3 separate regions of the Homo sapiens genome follow, and all the other regions are linked to region 2. Evidence: promoter capture Hi-C in human tissues and cell types (Jung and others, 2019). All regions are on one chromosome and are shown on one strand. The core of a region is centred on a gene start or on the middle of the fragment in contact, and the rest is flanking DNA. Distances in the headings are between cores, read along the strand shown.

What was found. Contacts are between HindIII fragments. The study calls those that stand out against the background at their distance.
Region 1: a fragment that was not itself captured here is called in contact with the fragment with the promoter of CDH20 in region 2 in 6 of the 25 tissues and cell types used here (heart left ventricle, neural progenitor cells, pancreas and 3 more).
Region 3: a fragment that was not itself captured here is called in contact with the fragment with the promoter of CDH20 in region 2 in 2 of the 25 tissues and cell types used here (hippocampus and lymphoblastoid cells).

The regions. Positions count from the first base shown.
Region 1 is chr18:61,285,592-61,288,521 of GRCh38, reverse strand. No RefSeq gene overlaps it. Among named protein-coding and RNA genes, the nearest start is that of CDH20, 46 kb to the left of the region's middle. The HindIII fragment of the contact is 4,448 bases long and covers 1-2,930 here.
Region 2 is chr18:61,332,103-61,334,868 of GRCh38, reverse strand. CDH20 (cadherin 20) reads right to left here and starts at 1,439. Exons shown (of 12, transcript NM_031891.4): 1 at 1,042-1,439. The HindIII fragment of the contact is 19,388 bases long and covers 1-2,766 here.
Region 3 is chr18:61,377,214-61,380,330 of GRCh38, reverse strand. All of the region lies in intron 1 of CDH20 (cadherin 20), which reads right to left. Among named protein-coding and RNA genes, the nearest start is that of CDH20, 45 kb to the right of the region's middle. The HindIII fragment of the contact is 5,047 bases long and covers 1-3,117 here.

The sequences.
Region 1 (2,930 bases), core at 282-2,781, 46 kb after region 2:
TCTTTGGAAGGGACATTAGGTTCCACTACTGTACTAGTCCACATAGTTAACAGGAATACCTGTCTAGCAAGTATCCTCACTTATTCCATTCCCATTCATATAGAGAAGGGTTACATAGGTACCAAACGATATAGAGAGGCAGTGGGCTATCTCTACTAGGCAATACAGCTTCATGTACTGTCTAGCCCAATTTTGCTTGGTGGAATAAAGGCATTATAAATTGTTTATTCAGAACACACAGTCTCTCATAGAGTTTGTATTCAGTAAAACTTCCTGGTTGATTGATTGATGATTGTTTATGGGATAGTCTGAATGTCTTAGACAACTAATAGAAAATGACTTTTTTCCAACCCCTATCTAAGATGTTCTCTACCTCTTGATCAGATCTTAAGCAGATCATGTAACTATCTAATTCCTTTTCTGTAATAAAGAACAGTCTGTTTTCTGTAATTGTGAGTCCTTCAAATATTAAAAATATGCAGCCTAAATAAAAAATTATTCATCACATGTAAGTGACATCATCTCTACTCTTTGTAGTAAGAAAAGGTACATTCTATATACTTTATTCTTTCCCTTCTTTCTCTTTTTTTTTTCCTGACTTTTGTAGGGGTAGACAATTAGAGGAACAAGGGAATGAAACATTATATAACTGGTGTCTGTCTATTCTGCAGGTGGATGTGATAAGCTGCCTTGTAGGGTCCATGTTGAGTAATTTGAAAGGCCTTCCAAAGACCACCACATTGGACAGTTCCAAAACATTGGTATCACTCTCTTTGGTTAACTAACCTTCTGCAAACCCTCTTATTTTCTGCTCCTTTGCAGTACATCCTGTAGCCTCTTACTGGGAATTCTCATTGTTCCTGCTGGCACCCTCTTGGTTGAAGTACCTGCAGTGATAGCCCAAGGCCTGTTTCCCTCTGAGTACTCACTTGGCCCAAGGGAAACATATCATCCTTGCCATACCCCATAGTGGGAGTTCAGACTGACTCACTGCTGCCTTCTCTTTCTGTGTTATTATGGATTGTGGTCTCCCTTCAGAATTTTCCAGAAAAGGGGCTCATAAGTCTCTATGTTCATATATGCCTCACTCTACTGAGGATACATGTCAGGTTTGCTCAAGAACCCTGTTGCTGTATTCTGCTCTGACGACACAGTGAGGTGGGCTAACCAGGTTCTGCATTTCTGCAAGTGTACAGTTTAAGAATGAGAGGCCAGTCTCCTTTGTTCACTCTCCATTCTCCTTCAGTGTTTCTCCTGATCACCATCCGTTTAGCTTGAAGGAGTAGGTGCACCTTCCACTCCATTTATAAGGCCACCACACTTTCCCTTTAGGCTGCAAACTCCTCATTTCTGTTGGTGACTGAATTCCTATAGGGAATTCTTTTTTTTTTTTTTTTTTCAGACGGAGTCTCACTCAGTCAGTTGGAATTCTTAAGCAGGTTGGAACGAGTAACATCACAGTTACAACATCCAACTGACTGGGTCCTGCAGAAGGTTTGTGCTATTACAAGAGGCTACAGGATGTACTGCAAAGGAGCAGAAAATAATAGAAATAGAAAATTCCTATTAAATAACTATTTTAACATCTTTTACACCAAGTTCGTTCTTGTTCCACAGCAGGGAAGAAAACTGAGGAACAAAATTTTGTTGTCCCTTTAACCTGCATCTCAGATACTAACATTTATAACTGATTTAGAAAAATTGGACATTATTATATTTGAAAGAAATGGAAAAAGGTCCCAATTCCTTACAGCTTCCTTGGAAATTTCCGGTGGGAGGCCTACTTAATATTACCTTGTCTCAACTTCAATTACTGCAATCATTTTGTGTGCCTATTATGGAATAATCTGTAAGCCAATCCCTGAAGATAAGTGGATTTCAGTCACTTTCATTTTTAAAGTTGCAATTTTATAATTTCAGGGAGGGAAGTGCTGGATTCAGAGGTCTCAATCATGCCATCCTCTCCAATTTAATTTAGCAACTTGCTTTCTATAATGATGTTAATCAGAGATCTGTGTCTGAATCTAGGGACTTCTCCCACTGAAGCTTGGTTATGTGAAATTTTATCTTTATGTTTTCCATACCTGCACAGATTTTGGGTTGACATAGCTGTCACACTGCTTCTTGCAAGTTTAGGTGCAATGAGAGATTGGAAGCCATGTAAAGAATTAGCATTTGAATCCCTGAGCTTGGTTCATTCATGCCTCAGGAAATGAAGACAGACAAATTCTTCAAGTAACTTGGGTGAAAAGCATTTCGGTCTAAATGAAATATGTAGCTCATTGAAAGCCCCAAATAATAAATGCAGTTTTCCCATTCACTTTGAAGATGTTCTGTGCAAAATATCTCAGCTTATCTTTTTCATGGCCAGAGTGTCGACAGAATAGCTACAGGGTTTGCCATAGTGCTTGGTGCCAAGTGCTTAAATGTTATTTTAATAAAAAGCAAATGATCTGCTGTGGAACCATTAGACTACAAGCTTTTGGAGAGCAGACATTGTGTTCTGTTCCTTCTTATGTCTCCATTTCCTAACACACAGTGCCCTCTTGTAGTATGTACTTACTAAATATTTGCTAAACGGAATCAGTCCTCCAGACTTACTAAGTGCCAAGCTCTGTTCTGGGCATTTTTCATGTACTAACTCATGTACATATCACAAAAACATTTTAAAGAAGTTGCTATTATTATCTCCATTTTCTGGCTAAGGAAATGGATAGAGAGAGAATTAAGTAACTTTCTCAAGTTACATAGCTAGTAAGCCAGAGCTGGGATTCAAACTGGATAAAATCTAGCAGCTAAAGTCTTAAGTGCAAAACCAACAGCCATGGGCTAATAATGCAATTAATATATAATGAAAAGACCCTTTCAGAATGAACAGAAGATGGAGAGATATGACTGACTTGGAGCAGAAGAAAGATCCTAAGGAGAGA
Region 2 (2,766 bases), core at 190-2,689:
TGGTGCTCGTGCCAATAACAAGAGCATTAATAATAATAGCAACAACATAGTAAACTCTGAATCTACCAGGCGACCAACTCCCCGATTGTCTGGTACTATCCCCTCTCACTTCCAGCCTGGTCTCGGCAGAAACAAACAAAACAAAACAAGGCTCTGACGCTGCCTCCGGGCTGCCTTCCAGATTTCAGCCCCCACTGCTGCCCCAGAGGCGGATAGCTAGGCAAAGGCTGCTGCAGTCTCTCCGATTGCTAAGGACACGTTGAGAGTCCTCGGTAACGTTCTCTTTGCAAATCTGAAACTTTAGCCCCATTTGACCCCCTTGCCCCCGGCTCTTCCCCCAGAGTAACTACAACAAGCAAAAACCAAACAGCGAGCGCAATTCAGAGCTTTCCTTGGGAGTGTCAGGGCCCGAGGACAGGAAATCCGGGGAGTTGGCGAAGTCCGGCAGGTGGCGGGGACTCGAGTACCCACCACATTCTCCTCCCACAGCCGAGCTCCGGCGGGGGCGCGGCGCGAGGCACGGACCAGGGATCGGCCCCGTAGGTGCCTGCGCCTCCCCGGAGCCTGGCTCTCTGGTCCCCTTCCCGGCGCACATCTCTGTGCGAGGGACGCGGCCACCCTGTCCCCTCTGCAGGCGGAGGGAGGCGCCACCGCCTGCGGGGCCAGCGAGGGTGAAGCCGTGCCAAGCGCCCCCACAAGCCGCGCTCCTGGATCCCCAGTCACCATCCCCAGGCGCGCGCAGTCCCCGCTCCCAGCGCGCCACGTCCTCCACCTGCCCCGGTGCGCCCCAGCTTCCCTGCTTCCAGAGAGCAGCTCCCCCAGTCCCGGCAGCCCATTTCCAACCCCTTCTCCCACTAAGTCCGAGGAAGTCGAACTCGGAGCGGCCGGTAGGCTCGTCGAGGTGGCAGGGAGTTGCTGGGAGAGCACAGCGCGGAGAGGGACCGCGCACGCCGCCCGGGGATTTCGCCCCAGAGGGCTGGCTCCGCGCGCCCGGAGTCCCAAGCCCCAGAAGCGGGGCCCGACCCGAGCCCTCTGCGTTACCTGGCACCGCCGGCGACTCTCCGGAGACCTTCGGTCCTAACTGCTCCAGGGCGGGCGTTCTGCTCACGTAGCTGCCTCCCCCACTGGGCGGCTGGTGCCCCGCTGGGTCTCTTCACCCCTGCTCGCGGCGCTGTCCCCGCCCCCCACCCCCCTACCCCCTCTGTCAGAAGTGTCACAGCTTTTCTGCCTTCGGATGTTTCGCAAAGTCTCCGTGCGGTTGCCAGGAGTTGGGGGGTACTGCCAAGTGCACCAACCCCGCCGATGCCCTGCCCTGCCCTCCCGCGGCCACCGCGTTCGGCCTGTCCAGTGAGAAGAGCCCCCTGGTCGCGGTCACCGTCCCCCGAGCGTGGCGCGCGGTCCGCTTCCCCTCCCTCGCGCCTTCCCTAGCAGGAGTGGCTGCTGCCTGCCTGTACCGCGGGTCCTCATTCCCCTGCTCATGAATATTCTGACAGAGGCTAATGCCGCTGAAGTAAATTGAATTAGCCAATTGGTGCCAGGAATGTGCGCTCCTTCCTTCTGAGGAGCTGTCTGGAACCCCACCAGATGAAAGCAATTAACGTCCGGTTGGCACCCTGTGGTTTAGACCAGTGAGGGGCAAAATGGGTTAATTCTTTAAATGCAGTTTAGATACCGCATTTAAATGTTTCAACTCCTCTATTGGCTGAGAGCGTAAGGAAATGTTAAGAGGGAGAGAGAAGAAAGGGGATGTGTGGACGTGGGGAGGGGGGCGGGGGTATTTACATCTAAACTTTCCCCTGAAGTTGAGGTAATTATTTTGCACAGATTCTGGAAGAGGCAATTGAGGAGTAGAACAGGATAAGGCAAATAAAATCAGAAAGGAAATGAGTACCAACTCGGGTTTAACCTTGACCTTGAGGGTGCAAAAGACATTGTTTTCAAGAGGAGAGGTAGGGGAAGATGGCATGTGTGAGGGAAACCTCACTCATCGACTTTTAAGAATTTCTTCAAATGCTCAGATTTCCTTTTCTTTTTGTCCTCATAGGAAAATCTTAGAGTTTTAAGCCTTTAACTAGAGATGGGGTGGAGGTATATTAAGGGTCAGAAATTTCTGAGGTGGAAGCTGAGACCACCCTTCTCTCCCAGATGAAGGGGGTCCCCCAAATCACACAATACTGTGACAGGCCCATTCCAGAAGGCAATTCCAGCTCTTATTTCTGAGGTCAGAATACACAAGGTCAAAAGGAGAGATCACCTCTCTCCTGTCCTGATTCCTACCCTAGAATGTCAAGTTACTGACGACAACTTGGGTTTCACAGTGGCTGGAGGGGGACTTTTTGCCCGATGTGGTTTCTACATTTCTCTTCAAGCAAGGTGCTTGGAGGATTTCCTCCCCCATCACTGATTGTAATAGAGCAAGTTATTTTGATTGAATTGATAGGTTACTAAATAATCTATTTGTACAACTGCTCTGTGGCCAAATGATCAATGTGTGTAAAGAACTGATAAAATGATATATATAAACATCCAATAAGATTCCCAAGTGTGTGACAATAGAAATAGTATCCCAGTTAAGGCAGTCATGCCATATTTTAATAGCTTTCAGCAGGCCTAGAATTAGAACTCATAGTTATAACAATGATTATTAATAGCAGAATAGCTAATGTTTATGGAGAACTTGTTATGTGACAGACATGTGTTACACATGTTATTTCATTTCATTTTTCCAACAACTCTATTCAGTCTAGACTATTATTTCTCTATTTT
Region 3 (3,117 bases), core at 460-2,959, 45 kb before region 2:
ACCTCCTCCCCTTTTCTTTCCACGGTCTCATGAAATGCAGGAAATTGCCATGGTTATTTCTTTGTTGCATTAACTCCTGAAAATACACTGATTTCACTTTAGTTTTTGCAAGCTCAAAGCTAACTGTGGATAAATTCAAGAAGACTTTTCATCAGGATATTGGCCTTCCTCCCCTGAAGCCCCCTTCAGGGGGTTTTATCTGCCTGCAGCCACTTTCAGTACTTCCCTAACCCACAGTCGCAGCAACTCTAAATCGACAGTCTTGTCAGAGCAAATGATCTAAAATAAACATCCGCGTGTCTGCCTGCATTAAGAATCCTGACAAGGATGCTTTGCCTGTATCAACTACAAGCTGACAGTCCTTAGAAACACTTTGCTTATTGCCTTGGTTCAGTGGCTGAGGGAGAGTAGCTATAAGGCCTGAAGTCTAATTTTGAATGGTTAAGGATGTTAAAATCCAAATGAAACCATCAAAGACCTACCTCTCTGCTTTTCCTCCTCTTGACAGGTTTCTCAATTGTAATAGTTATCTCATGTATGTGAAACTCTTGGATCAGTCAGCAAATTACATCAGGACACTCCAACAATACTATTTTGTATACAAAGACACTAGATGAGGAAATAAATGTAAATATCAAGCCCATAGTTTTGCAGGCAAGGCCCCTTTCTGATGTTTTCTTAGCTACATAATGCCCACTAAAACTTTATCTTTGGGATTCATACTGGGAACTATCTCACGATACCAAAAATTATCAGTTAATAATAGATACTCTGTCTATGTGGCCCTAAAGAATATTCCATAGACTTTCCTTTTCTCTAGTAAGCTTTATATTGTGGAGCCTAGAAAGAGAAAAGACTCTAAGTTTGTATATTCTGTATCTTAAAGCCAGAGAAGTCAATGCAATCCTGGGAAGGGACTTTTCTATTAATGTTCTAAGGTTTGGCATCCTCAATAAAGCGATTAATATTTCAACATTACAAGTTTCTCAAAGAGCCCTAAGAAAAATTTGAAGGGAGCATAATAATGCTTCACAGCTGTTGAAATTTTATGTGCCCAGCACAAATTAAGGAGAAATTGCTTGATTATTATTAGGCTTAGCTGATCTATTAAAATAGCCAGTTGAAATAAAGAGAGCCACTCTTCTGCGGTAATTATCTAAGCTGATTATCTGTGTTAACCATATCTGAGTCATTATCATTTTTATATATCATTTCAAGAGATACAGCCTAAAAGCCTGAAAATTATAAGGGGAAAAACCTAATTGTAGATTTTCTTCTTAAATTTTATTTTTATATCATATTTATCTAAGTAATCTCAGGAAGTCTTTAATACTATACGAAAACTACCGAGAGGGGAGAAAAAGGCCACCATTTAATTTATTATAATATTTTCTTAAATCACTTGCAGTATATATTCTATTCCTGGCAAACAACCCTGAGTGTCTCATATTAATTGTGCTTAGAGTGTGGTTGTTTCCTTAAAATACACCCCAAGTCACATCTAAGCTGAAGCACCAAATGCCAGTTCTTTAGAAATTAATTTTGAAAAAAGCAGAACTATTTCCCTTATTATCTACCTGAAAGTTTTGTTACATTTGATCTAAATCAGAGCTTTTACTAAGACAAAAAGAATAGTCACCAGTCGTAATGGTTAATTTTACGTCAACTTGACTGGGCTGTGGCATGCCAAACATTTGGCCAAACATTATTCTGGATGTCTTCATGAGGGTGTTTCTGGATGAGATTAAAATATGAGCCAGTAGACTGAGTAAAGAGGATGTTTCTGGATGAGATTAAAATCTGAGCCCGTAGACTGAGTACAGCAGCTTGCTCTGTCCAACGCGAGCAGGCATCATCTAATCCGTTGGATGCCTGAATAGAATAAAAAGGCTGTGTAAGGGGGAAGTTTGCTCATTCTGCCTGTCTTTGAGCTGGGACATCAGTCTTCTCCCACCTTTGGACCTGAACTTGGACTGGAACTTTCACCATTAGTCTTCTGGGTCTCTAGTTTGCTACCTGCAGATCTTGAGACTTCTCAGGCTCAGATACACGTCTACCATTGGTTCTGTTTCACTAGAGTACCATGGCAAATACATCAGCTGATGAAAGTCCACAGAATTTTGAAAATGAAGGTGTTTCATACACCTATTATATTAAAATTTAATTTAGAATGCCCATACAAGTATTTAATCTGCTCCTGGGGTAGAATGAGCCAATAGTGAGCAATCTGTTCTTCAGTATTTTAGCCATTTCTGATGTGAACAGAGCCCTGTTGACCCTTGGGAATCTACTAGGAAAACGGGGACATCAAAGGAACTCCTGGGTCCCCCACAGACTTTCTCAGCTTAAGAAAGGTATAGATTTCTCCTGCTTGGGTGGACCCTTCCTTAAAGTCCTGACATTTCAAAAATGTGAAGTAAATAAGTCATTAGTTGTCAGAATGTGAACCAGTCTAATTAGTATAAGAGTTAGTAAGTGGCCCAATATGTGCAGGTCTGTGGAGTGAACCGTAACATAGATCCAATACATAATTTCTTCCCTCAAGATGTAGGCCCACAATGTAAAAAACAGATATATCGTAATATTAAGAAACCCATGATAGAATGTGCAAATGAGCTGCTGAGGTAGGAATCCCTAATCTTGATTTGGTGACAGCCAAATAAACTCCATTTACTAAAAAAAGGGATGTGTGCGCTGGTTGTAAAATATTTAAAAATATTAATTTTAGTTCATTTTAATTTAAGAAATAAAATATATTTCTGAAGTGGTCACCAAAGACTTAACAATGCGGCCAAGTAAAAACTCAAAGTGGATTGGGCTCTCGGTGGACAATCTGAAGGAAGGCTAAGAGGCTGGCCACTTATGAGGCTTCGCGTGTCTGATGAAACCTGAACAAGATACAAGTAATGGAAACTTATGTGGCCAGGTCTAATGTTTCAGTTCTACTGAGGCTGCCTCCTGGTTTTCTCCCTGTTGTTCTCCCCTGTTCCATTGTAATAGGGTTTATCTGGGGGTTTGACTGCCCAGCTAGAGGCCAAATTCCCAGACTCCTTTGTGGCTAAATATGGTCATGAAATTCTGTTTCTCCAGTGAAATGTGAATGGGTGTACTAAGTAC